Linked DNA regions of Homo sapiens: region 2 is linked to region 1. The links are contacts of gene promoters, found by promoter capture Hi-C in human tissues and cell types (Jung and others, 2019). All regions are on one chromosome and are shown on one strand. The core of a region is centred on a gene start or on the middle of the fragment in contact, and the rest is flanking DNA. Distances in the headings are between cores, read along the strand shown. Region 1 holds the start of TMEM51 (transmembrane protein 51). Region 2 overlaps FHAD1 (forkhead associated phosphopeptide binding domain 1).

What was found. The method cuts DNA at HindIII sites, captures the fragments that hold promoters and counts their contacts. A contact is called where the count stands out against the background at its distance.
Region 2: a contact is called between a fragment that was not itself captured here and the fragment with the promoter of TMEM51 in region 1, in 1 of the 25 tissues and cell types used here (adrenal gland).

What each region holds. Positions count from the first base shown.
Region 1 is chr1:15,149,434-15,156,091 of GRCh38, forward strand. TMEM51 (transmembrane protein 51) reads left to right here and starts at 4,314. Exons shown (of 4, transcript NM_001136218.2): 1 at 4,314-4,521. TMEM51-AS1 (TMEM51 antisense RNA 1) reads right to left here and starts at 3,031. Exons shown (of 5, transcript NR_027136.1): 1 at 2,858-3,031. RefSeq lists silencers at 4,137-4,406, 4,467-4,516, 4,607-4,786 and enhancers at 4,496-5,157, 4,937-5,026, 5,158-5,819. The HindIII fragment of the contact is 16,508 bases long and covers 1-6,658 here.
Region 2 is chr1:15,306,028-15,312,065 of GRCh38, forward strand. FHAD1 (forkhead associated phosphopeptide binding domain 1) reads left to right here. Exons shown (of 34, transcript NM_001391957.1): 7 at 2,586-2,709. Among named protein-coding and RNA genes, the nearest start is that of FHAD1-AS1, 35 kb to the right of the region's middle. RefSeq lists an enhancer at 1-42. The HindIII fragment of the contact is 6,121 bases long and covers 1,563-6,038 here.

The sequences.
Region 1 (6,658 bases), core at 3,064-5,563:
ATGGTGGCTCATGCCTGTAATCCCAGCACTTTGGGAGGCTGAGGCGGGTAGATCACTTGAGGTCAGGAGTTCAAGACCAGCCTGGCCAACATTGTGAAACCCCATCTCTACTAAAAATACAAAAAATTAGCTGGGCGTGGTGGTGTACGCCTGTAATCCCAGCTACTCGAGAGGCTGAGGCAGGAAAATTGCTTGAACCGAGAAGTCAGAGGTTGTAGTGCAACCTCTGCACCACTGCACTCCAGCCTAGGTGACAGACACTCTGTCTCAAAAAAATAAAAAATAAAAAAAGTGGTTTGTGTAGTATCATCATATTTAGTGCCTTTCTCGGTGAATGATATAACTTGGACGTTCTTCCATGTCAGATAGCTCTACCTCATTCTTTCTGGTGACTTCATAGTGTGCCAGCATGAGTCTATGCCACAATTTACTTAGCATAGCTCCTAGTGCTGGGCATTGAGGTTGGTGACCACTTTTCACCGTTACAATTAATCAGCAATGAAAACCCTTGGACGTTCTGTTCCTGAGCACATGTGTGAGTTGTTCTGCATGATGATCTATTTCTATAAGCTGATTTTCCAGCCTCACTTTCATTGATGTGCCTGGAAAGTCAGTAGCATGACAGACTGGGGTCTTGGTCACTAACCAGGGACAGTCGAATATTTTAAAACTGTCGTTATTTACCCATTCAGCCAGAAAGAATAAAAATGTAATGCCACGGGAATTCTCAGAACAGCATCCTCTCCTCTTTGAATTCAGGCTTTCAGAACTAGACAGGCTAATGCTCCCACAACTCATGTTCAGGCCACACTGGGTACTTTGTCACATACTAGTTCACCTGATCCCCGAGTTGGTCCTGGAAAATAGGTATTATTAGCATAGAAATGCTAATAATTTTTTTTTGACACATGAGGAAACTGAGGCTCAGAGAGGACAAGACATCTGCCCAGGGTCACACAACTCACAAATAGCAGAGGATTCAGAAACCAAAGACAAAGGTGATGGAATCCTGCCTTCTTTCTAAATCCGTGATGTAGGCTAGATCATGGTGCCTCTTCAGAAGTTTACAGTGGACAGTTAGCCAAAAAAGCAGGTGAAGTGAACATCTGCCTAGGTGACTGAGTTTGCAGGATGTATTAGTTTCCTCCCGCTGCTGTGACAAATTGACCCAAACTTCATGGCTTAGAACAACACAGTGAACTATCTTCTTACAGTTCTGGAGGTCAGATGTCCAAAACGGATCTGCAAATGCCTTCCCACCTTCAAATCATAAGGCAGACCCAAACTTGCCTTTTTGTGGATGCCAAGAGCTCCTTCTGGATGCTCTGGCTGACACTCCATTCCTTTCCTTTTCTAGCTCCTAGAGGCTGCCCACATTCCTTGGCTACTGACCCTTGTCCAGCAACTGTATCATTCTGATCTCTACTTCTATCACCACATCTCCCTCTCTAACTCTGACCCTCCCGCTTCCCTCTTGTAGGAACCCTTTTGACAACATTGGACCCACCAGGAAAATCAAGGATAACCTCCCCGTCCCAACATCTTTAACTTGATCCCATCTGCAAAGTCCCTTTTGCCACGTAAAGTAACCAGTTCTGGGGATCAGGTTGTGAACATCTTTGGGCAGCCATTATTCTGCCTATCACAGAAGGGGGTTCCTAGCTTAGTGATTTAGAGCAAGGGCCCTGCAAAGACCCCAGATTCAAATACTTTGTCACTTGCTAGCAGATCCAGGTACCTAACTTCTCTGAGTCTTAACAGCCTCATCTGAAAAACTAGAATAATAGAATCTTCCTTCTAGGGCTGTTTTGAAAACCAAAGAACACAATGTATGCAGTGCACGTGAAACACAGGGTTCAATAAATGGTAGGGAAGATTCAGAGAAACTAACCATGTAGAGGGAGAGGGCTGTGGAGGAGAGGAGGATAAGGAGAGGCATGCTTCCTTTGGTAGCTTCTTCAGTTTTGCCTGGGCCTCAGCTTTGCCTGAGAATTTCGTCAGTCTCTCCCCAGATCAGCCAGGGTGAGCCTGCTTAAATGGAACACTCTGAAGATGATATCCTGTGATAAACAAGACCTGCCCAGTTGAGTCTGCAGCAGAGTGGGGCGGGTCTGGGATGACCCTGGCATGGAAAAGTACAGCAGCTCTTTGTCTTCAGATTAGGAGCTGGGACAGCTGTTCTGACATGATCACCCCCCGCCCCCACCCCAGGCCTCTCCAAAGTCCATCTTGCAGAGTCAAATGAAAACCAGATTCCTGGTCTTATCTGAGAGCTACGTGACTGTTTCCTGTCACTCCTTTGGAGCCTGGGAAGGTCCCCACATGCATTGTCTAAACTTTGGGATGAATACGCACAGCTCTTAAATGGGAGCATATTATTATAGGTACCTGCCTACACAAAGGGTCCTCCCTATTCACTAAAATCATGGGTTATTATTTAGGGCTTTCATTCATCCAACAAATGTTTATTCCGCATTTGCAGGTGGCCAGGCAAGGTGAACATTCTCTCAGGGTGGAGAGTATGTGCAGACAGGAGGAATTATGCTATGGGAGGGAGAGCAGAAGCTCTGGAGTGGATCATCTTGGGTCTAGATCCTGATACTTCCCAGCTGTGTTTTCACTGGGCAAAATGACCTCACCTCCTTAAGCCTCAGCCTTCTCTTCTATAAAGTGGGCATAACAAATAACCGCCTCCTAGGTTATGAGGATTAAATGAGATGGTTCAGGGGATGTGGGTGGTAACCCCGCCCCTGGTTCATAGCAAGGATGTGAGGAATAGCAGTTGCTGTCATAGACATGGAGACTGTTTCCCCAAATGCCTTCCCACCCCCAAATCATAAGGCAGACCCAAACTTGCCTTTTTGTGGACGCCAAGGTTCTGTCGAGCTGTTAGGGTGCAAGTTAAGAAGCCAGAATGGCGGGCTGAGGGGAGAAATGCCCGCATGTTACAACTCTGCAGGTGTACACACGTGGACACCATATGTACCCATGAATTCCGCCTTTGGAAGTGAACTTGATTGCAGCCTATTTTCGTCTGGAGGCGGTGGATTCCCGGTAGGAGGCGCCTTCAGTCCTCGGCTCGATCCTGTGACGCCAGCCAGCTGCCTATCGGCTTCTCAGTGTTTGAACTTCAAAGGGCTGGACGCTCACCCAAGAAGGGGACCCCGGCCTGACCTCTCTCGGAATTCAAAAAAATCTAAGGCTCAGAGAGGGAATGGGAGCTGGCTCTTCCCTCTGTGTTTAGCATCCACGTTTTTTGGCGGTCTGGCTGAAACCAGCCCACCCTAGTTCGGGCGCCAGAGCAACGCAGTTCCGAGGGCAGATCTCCAAGGGGCGGAGGCAGAGCCGCGGGTGAGAGGCTTCCGCGCCGACTTCGGGTTTGCACTCCCCGGAGCCAGAACTCCGTGGCGGCTCCGGGCCTCCGTGGATCCGAGCAGAGACTGGCTGCCCGCCTGCCACTCGCAGGCTGGGAAAACGCCAGCCGGTGCCTCGCCGGGAAAGTTCTCGGCAAAGCTGGGGATGAGCCCTCAGCAGGGCAGGCTCCCGGTGCAGCGCGCCCCCATCCATTGCCCGCGCGCAAGAACCCGGAATGGGCCCCACCTGGGCCGGGACTCGGGCGTGCGATCCCGAGGGCGCCCTGGGGACCACGCATCGGGTGGGGACCCTGGCCGAGGGCGTGAGCTGACTCAGTTTTTAAAAACTCGCTTCCTCCTTCCCTACTTGTGCCGGTCACTCACCTCGCTGGGAACCAGCCCAGGGCAGAAGGGGGAGAGGGAGGCGGTGGCCTCCCCAGGAAGGAGGAGAGGTGAGTATCCCGCCAGGTAAAGGCGGGGCGGCTGGCGGAGCTGTGCCTCGGCGTCTGCGCCTGGTGTGGGAGGAAAGCGGGTCTCCCAGCTCCACTTAAACCCCTAAAACCTGGGACTTCTAGCTTGAGACATTCCCCGACCACCACCCGTCACACACACGCGCGTGCGCGCACACACGCATGCACACCGATTCTCTGGGCCCTAGGGAGGAGGGGGGATCAGGGCTCTATTTTCTCCCGACCCCCTCTTATCCAACTCGGCTGGCAAGGGTTGGGGAGAACTTAGGCCCAGCCCCCGGCACACGCTCAGCGCGCTCCAGCGGCATACGCTGGGGAGTGGGTGCCCGCCTCGCTCAGCTGCGATCCCTCGCCTCGGGCCCGGGGGTGGTGCCGAGGGCCGGGAGGGAGGGTCGGCCGGTGGGCGGTGCTTCTCCGGGCTGGAGGCCGCTCCTGGCCGGCACCGCCCTCCGCCTCCCGCGGTCCCTCCCTCCCGCACGCCGGCGCTCCCAGGCCGCGCTTCCTGCGTCCCCAACCCGGTCCCTGAGAGGGCAGTGCGCCCTCTCCACCACTGCGTTCCCTCGGCTAAGAATCCCCCGAACCCCAGCCCCGCGATCGCGGCGCCCACCGAGGAGGCCGCCCGGGTGGGGCGCGGGGGTCGCGAAGCCCGCAGTCCCGGACCGCCCAGCCGAGACGGAGCCGGACCCGCCGCCTCCCGGGTGAGTCTCAGCCGCCGCGCCTTGCGCCCGCTGCTTCCCGCGGCGCGCTGTCGGTTCCCCACAGGGCCGTGTAAGGGGGCCGAGGCCCGTTTGGGTCTCCTGTCCGTCCGTCTGTCCGCCGAGCGCTTCCCGCCTGGGGTCGACCACCGGGAGGACTCCGCACCCCGCACCCTCTGCGGCCGCGCCCCGCCGGCGCGGGACGCTCCCGCCTCCCGGGCACCGCGCCTGGCCAGCTGGCCTCGGCTGGGGAAGGCAGCTGGCCTTGGGGGCCCCCTGTTGGCGGGAACAGGTGCTATCCGCCCGGCGGGCTTCGAACCCTTGGCTTCGCCAGAAGCGCTTTCAGCGCGTGGTTAGGAGCAGAACTTCCCAGTAGGTCCCAGGAAACCACCTTGGCGCTTTGCTCGCGCATCCCTTACTGTATGGAAGTCGGGGCCTTTTAGGGATTTAGATTCGTGTGTGTGTATGTGTGTGTGTCGCTCTACAAGCAAACACGGGGGTAAAGAATCGGGCATGAGCAAAGTGGATTGAAACTCGAGTCCTTCCCTGAGCGCGTCGGTTTCTTCATCTGTGAAACTGACATGACAACGTCCCAGGGTGCGGCGGGGCATTCATGCCCAGCACCCAGCAAGCACTCAGCGGTAAGTTACGTTACCGGGCCTAGGGGAGAGCAGAGTACAAATCAGATCTCAAATCAGCGCACAAACGGGAGGCGCTTGGCCCGGCGCGCCTGGTCTGCATTACAGGATAATGGTCTCTTTCCCAACCAGCGGTGGGGGCGAGAGACCTGGCCCCTCCCCCACGGTTTCCCCAGGGAGCAGCCCGTGGGGTGTCCTGCGCAGCGCTCCGAGGTGCCTGTGACGGTGCATGGGACTGCGGGTCCTTCCCAACAGCAGGGGAGGTCTGGCTGCTGGGAACCCGGGCGCTGCCGGAGTGGGGTGGGCGGGGACGAGGTGGGCGGGGCAGGGACCCGAACCGGGAGGTAAGTCAGCGGGTGGAAGGCTTTCCCCTCTAGGACCGGCCGGCTTCTGGCTTTCCTTTTGAATGGGTTACCCGGAGAACAGCTTGTCTAGGGAACTGTTGGCCCTGGGACCGTGAACAGCTTTCACACCCCGGAAACCTGTCACAAGAGGATCCTGACCTATTGGGACAGAGCCCCTGCCCCTCCAAATATCTCACTCCACCAATTGAGAGGTACCCCCAGACTGGGAGAAAAGGCCAAAGAAAGAGAGAGGAGGCTAGTGGTGAACCTGCTCCTCACGGCTTCGGAGCTGACAGCTCTCTGATGGGGTGTCTGGGGCCTGCCCCAGTGACCCAGAGCCCAGAAGCCTCAGGGAGCCCCCAGCCTAGTGAGGGAGTCAGGGATACTCATGAAAAGTGTTGCAGAATTGGCGATACAGTCAGGCCACACCACTTGCTGGCTGTGTGACCTGACCTCTCTGAGCCTCAGCTTCTTCATCTGTAAAATGGGATGATGATCTCCAAGGGCGAGGTGGGGTATTTATGCCTAGCACATGAAGTATTCTATAGTAAGTTATGTCACAGGGCTTAGACGAGAACAGAAGAAAGGAAATAACTCAGGAGGTCCTGCTAAGAAAAGAGTATTAGAATATTCATCAGGGAACTGGAGTCCCCCCAGGGAACAGGGGAGGAAGGGTGTCTGGGCAGATCGAACAGCACAGGCAAAGGCACAGCGACAGGAGAGTGCCTGGGGTGTGCTGGGCTGGGGAAGGTGCTCAGGCAGTGGAGGGTGTGGAAAAGTAAAGGGAATGGAAGGTCCGGAGTGAGCTGGACTGGACAGGTGGGGGCTTTCTTGGAATCATTCAACATATGTTGGCCGAGCACCTTCTGTGGGCCAGGCGCTGTTCTAGGTGCTCAACAAAGATGAACAACATGGAGAAAGACGTCCCTTTCATTCAAGTTCTCTAAGCAGGGAAGTCGTCTGATCCCATCCATATGTTAAGAAGATAATCCTGGCTGCCTGGAAGTTGGCGAGGATCCTAGAGAAGACTCCTAGGAGAGAGAGGCTGGCCTGTGGGTTGGTGGGGGCAGTGGGAATGAATGGGGGAGCTGGAGGAGAGGCCCATACAGGAAGCAGAGAGTAATGTGTGGCCTTCACTCATGACTGTTGGTCAAGGGT
Region 2 (6,038 bases), core at 3,373-5,872, 160 kb after region 1:
AGTTTGGAACTTTCTAGAGACTTGCTGAATGGCTTTGACAAAAAGCCTGATAGCGATATGGATAATAAGGCCCAGGCTGAGGTGGTCTCCGATGGAGATGAGGAACTTGTTGGGAACTGGAGCAAAGGTGACTCTTGTTATGTTTTAGCAAAGAGAATGGTGGCATTTTGCCCCTGCCCTAAAGATTTGTGGAACTTTGAACTTGAGAGAGATAATTTAGTGTATCCAGCAGAAGAAATTTCTAAGCAGCAAAGCATTCAAAAGGTGACTTGGGTGCTGTTAAAAGCATTCCATTTTAAAAGGGAAACAGCATAAATTCAGAAAATTTGCAGCCTGATGATGGAGTAGAAAAGAAAAACCCATTTTCTGGGGGAGAAATTCAAGCCAGCTGCAGAAATTTGCATAAGTACCAAGGAGACTAATGTTAATCCCCAAGGCCATGGGGAAAATGTCTCCAGGACATGTCAGAGACCTTCACAGCAGCCCCTCCCATCACAGGCCCAGAGGCCCAGGAGGAAAAAGTGGTTTTGTGGGCCAGGCCCGGGGTCCCCATGCTGTGTGCAGCCTAGGGACTTGGTGCCCTATATCCCACCCACTCCAACCATGGCTAAAAGGGGCCAACATAGAGCTTGGGCTGTGGCTTCAGAGGGTGGAAGCCCCAAGCTTTTGCAGCTTCCACATGGTGTTGAGCCTGCAGGTGCACAGAAGTCAAGAATTGAGGTTTGGGAACCTCTGCTTAGATTTCAGAAGATGTGTGGAAATGCCTGGATGCCCATGCAGAAGTTTGCTGTGGGGTCGGGGCCCTCATGGAGAACCTTTGCTAGGGCAGTGTGGAAGGGAAATGTGGGGTCAGAGCCCCCACACAGAGTCCCTACTGGGGCATTGCCTAGTGGAGCTGTGAGAAGAGGGCCCCCGTCCTCCAGACCCCAGAATGGTAGATCCACCAATGGCTTGAATCGTACTCCTGGAAAAGCCGCAGACACTCAACGCCAGCCCATGAAAGCAGCTGGGAGAGAGGTTGTACCCTGCAAAGCCACAGGGATGGAGCTGCCCAAGACCATGGGAACCTACCTCTTGCATCAGCGTAATCTGGATGTGAGACCTGGAGTCAAAAGATCATTTTGGAGCTTTAAAGTTTGACTGCCCTGCTGGATTTCAGACTTTCATGGGCCCTGTAACCCCTTTGTTTTGGCCAATTTCTCCCATTTGGAATGGCTGTATTTACCCAATACCTGTACCCCCATTGTACCTAGGAAGTAACTAGCTTGCTTTTGATTTTACAGGCTCATAGGCGGGAAGGACTTGCCTTGTCTCAGATGAGACTTTGACTTTTGGGTTAATGCTGAAATGAGTTAAGACTTTGGGGGACTATTGGGAAGGCATGGTTGGTTTTGAAATGTGAGGACATGAGATTTGGAGGGGCCAGGGGCAGAATGATATGGTTTGGCTGTGTCTCCACCAAATCTCAACTTGAATTGTATCTCCCAGAGTTCCCACACATTGTGAGAGGGACACAGGGAGAGGTAATTGAATCATGGGGGCTGGTCTTTCTCATGCTGTTCTAGTTACAGGGAATAAGTCTCACAAGATCTGATGGGTTTATCAGGGGTTTCCACTTTTGCTTTTTCGTCATTTTCTCTTGCCGCTGCCATGATTCTGAGGCCTCCCCAGCCAGTGAAACTGTAATTCCAATTAAACCTCTTTCTCTTTTTTTTTTTTTGGAGACGGAGTCTCACTCTGTCACCCAGGTTGTAGTGCAGTGGCACGATCTCGGCTCACTGCAAGCTCTGCCTCCCGGGTTCACACCATTCTCCTGCCTCAGCCTCCCGAGTAGCTGGGACTACAGGTGCCCGCCACCACACCCAGCTAATTTTTTGTATTTTTAGTAGAGACAGGGTTTCACCGTGTTAGCCAAGATGGTCTTGATCTCCTGACCTCATGATCCACCCGCCTCAGCCTCCCAAAGTGCTGGGATTACAGGCGTGAGCCACTGCGCCCGGCCTAAACCTCTTTTTCTTCCCAGTCTCGGGTATGTCTTTATCACAGCGTGAAAACAGACTAATACGGGAGCATTCCCAGGAGCCTTCTGTGGAGAGGCCATGAGGCTCTGTTGAAGGAGTAGTGTCTGTGAGTGGGCTTTGTAGGTTCTAGAGTGTTCTGTGAGATATAACCTATTGTTATCATTTGAGGGAATTAATTTTATAACATGCTTCCCTCTCTTGAACTTTGCTCTGTATCCAGTCAGTACTGGGCGACCTGGAACCAACAGGTGATCTGTTTATGGCTGAGAGTCCAAAGGTCATCAGAAGGCACATTAAGAAACCAGGTGTCCCCAGTGGCAGCCAGGCCTGGGCCCCTTTATGGGCACAAAGATAAGGTTCATGTTTTGATGACATAGGAAGTGGTGGTCCTTGAAGGAACAGGCCCTCCCCTGTCCCTTCCACTGGTTAAAACTAAAAAGCTTGGTTTCCCCAACACCCCAGCCAAAACTCAATCTGAATCTTTCTGTCAAGCTTGTGAGAAGTACCTGTGTGTCTCCCAGACGTGGGCCAGCCCCCCTCTGACTGTGCCACCTCCTCCCACAGATCAGTGCCCTACAGAAAGGCTACAGCAAGGTGCTGTGCCAGACCCTGTCAGAGCGGAACTCAGAAATCACATCCCTGAAGAATGAGGGCGAGAACTTAAAGAGAGACAACGCTATCACATCAGGTGAGCCCTTGGAGTCGGGCCTGGGAGCTGCCACTCCCGCACCCGTTGTTCTTGGCCACAGCAGACATCACCAATCAACCACATACTTTTTGTTACTGAACTTGGCTGCAGCCTCAGAGTTCTTCCCAGCAGCCCTTTAGGCAGTTCCTGTCCATGAATCTGAGTTCACCCTCAGAGGTTTATGTGCCATCCAGTTCCTAGCATAGGGCCTGGTTTGGAGTGAGCCCTTGATAAATATTTGAGCAAATGTTATCTGTTAGCTAAAAGGCCTGCTGAGCATGGACCTCACCAGGGAACACACAGGACAAGCTGCAGCTCAGGCAGTCCCATGAGCCAGTTTGCTGTGAATGCAAACTAGAATGTGGCTAAAATGGGGTTGCCAGTTTAAGGCACCCAGCCTCTTACCCATCTCACACTGGTGCTCTTGGGCCGGAGCGAAAGCATTTTGCTAATTGAGAGGTAGCTGGATACTCAAGAACTTGGGTGGGCAAGGGGGCAGCCAACTCATGGCCCACCCTTGCCAGGCACAGCTGTTTCTTAGCCTGGATTCATTCATTCATTCATTCATTCAGCACATTTATGGAGCAGCTGCTAGATGCCAGGCACTGTTCTAGGCACTGGGGAGAGAGAGCCCTGAGCAGTCAAGATCCCTCTGCCCCTCTGCTCATGGGGCTCACACTTGGGAGAGGATGACAGACAATAAGAAGTAAAAAGATAAATGAACAAGCCCATACCAGAGAGAGATCAGTGCTCCAGAGGAAATAAAGCTGGACACCGTGGTGGGGAAGCACTCAGGGGGTGAAGTGAAGGAGAATAGCTTAGTGCAAGCTTGTCCAGCCCACGACCTGCGGGCCACATATGGCCCAGGACAGCTTTGAATGAGGCTCGACACAAATTCCTCAACTTTCCTAAAACATTATGAGATTTTTTTTTTTTAGCGATTTTTTTTTTTAGCTCATCAGTTATTATTAGCGTGAGTGTATTTTATGCGTGGCCCAAGACCCTTCTTCTTCTTCCAGTGTGGCTCAGGGAAGCCAAAAGATTGGACATCCCTGGCTTAGTGCCTGGGCAGGGATATCTCTGAGGAGGTGGGAGGGGCTGTCGGGAGGCCCCTGGGAACGGTATGCTGGGCAGAGAGCACAGGTGCAAAGGCCCCGAGGCTGGACCAAGCCACGGTGTTGGATCAACTGCCGGCGAGTGTGGCTGGAGTCAGGGAACAAGGGGCTATGGGACCTGGTGGGGTCAGGGGGGAGGCAGGGCCACATTACATGGGAGGGGTTCAGGTTTTCTTCTAAGTGTGATGGGACACGTTAGGGTTTTTAAGGCAGAGAATGGCATGTCTCGAGACCTGCAGATGATAGGGCCATGGACAGAGAAAGGGGGAAGAGAGAAAAGCAGGTGGTGGAGAGGGAATGAGTCCAGATTGGGCATATTGCTCCTAAAGTCCCCCCTGCACAGCAGGAAACATGCCCGTGGCTGTGAAAGCAGAGCGTAGCATTGAGTCAGACACAATCGCTGTCTCCGCAGGACCCAGGCCGCCTGGCCGTGGCTTTCCCTCTGCCTCACTCTGCAGTCCCCCTCCCCACTCCAGGCTTCTACCTCTGTTCTTCCCTAACATGGAATGTTCTTGGATACTTGTGAGCCCTATGGGCAGGGCTGCTCTGGGCACCAGGCATCCCAGGGGGATCTCGCTGGGCCCTGCCCTCCTCCCCAGCGTCTGTCCATCACACCCCATCCACGCTACAAGCCTGTCTCAGACACCACTCCTCTAATCAAGGAGTCAGACAGACCTGGGCTCAGGTATGGCCTGGGATGGGCTACACTCTCACGGCCCCAAGTGTGGTCCCTGGACCAGCAGCATCAGCATCACCTGGATCCTTGTGAGAAACTGGGAATTTCAGGCCCCACTCCTGACCTTCCGATCAGAATCTTCATTTTCACAAGCCTCCCGGCTGCTGCTTGTGCACACTTAAGCTCGAGAAGCACTGGGCCGGGTTACGCTGCAGTGACAAACAGTCCCCCAAGTCTCAGTGGCTCACAATAGACAGGTTCAGCTCCTGCTTCCACCCTGAGCCCATCATGGGTCAGTAGGGGCTTTGGTCATTGTGGCCACACAGTGACCCAGGCTCACAGAAGCCATCACAACACATCACAAACCCCATCTTCCACAGGAAGAGAGGCAGATGGAGGAACAAGGTGCGGATTTCCTCACCTGCCTGAAACAACTCAAACAAACAAACAAAAACCAAACAAACAGAAAAAAATGTCTGAAATAATGGTTTCCATCTATTGGCCCCAAGAAGCATGTGACGATGATCTGGGAGGGAGTGGAAACAAACAAGATGAAATCTACGATTGCCCCCGGCTGGCTTGCGCTGGAGAGAGTTTCCAGACCACAGCAGGGAGGGGAAGCCAGACAGAGCCCAGTGGTCAGCCCGACTTGAGGAGATGGAGGTGGAGAAGCCAGCACAGCTTGAGTTTGCTGGGTGGCGTGCCAGGCGGGAGGGGGCTGCACGGAGAGCACCCCGGAGATCTCAGAGGGTCCGCCTCAAGTCTTCAGCAGAGTCAGGTGTGATGAGCACGTGCATGTGGGCAGGGAAGGAACCACCCAGGAGGAGCAGAGGGAACCATCTCGAAGCCCACGTAGGCCTGAGAGTAGCTCACTTTCCCACCATCCAGAATGGGGCAACCTTGCACTACACAGGGCACCTGGTAGAGACTCAAGCCAAATTCATTCTAGAGAAAAGGTCACTCTGGTCCCGCCTCACAAAGCATGCAGGCAAGCCCCAGAGAGAGCAGTCTGTTTCTAAGGAACTTAACTGTGTCCCCGGACGAAGCTCATTTTTACAATGAAATTCTGAATCATGTTGTTCTTTATTACACATCCTTGATTGTGCAATAAAGATTGATTCTTGATTGATACCCACCAATAAAACTAGGATGAATGTTTTTCTAAGAAAAGGACCGTATGAGATAACCCAATACCACTGCATTATGCACCCTTCTTCTCACTTTTTCTCAATGTGATAATACAATAATATATTGACTATCTGCTGTCACATAAGTTATCCCAAAAAAGCAACAAATATGTTTATCTTACCCGGTTTCTGTGGTTCAGGAACTTGGGAGTGACTTAGTCTGGCTCAGGGTCTCTCACGAGGTTGCAGGAGCTACTGCTGTCATGTCATCTAAAGCCCGACTAGGGCTCGAGGATCCCCTTCTGGAATGACTCGCTCACATGGCTGTTGGCTGGAGGCCTCAGTTCCTCACCATGTGTGTCCTTCCCTAGGGCTGCTTGAGTGTCCTCACAACATGGCGGTTGGCTTTCC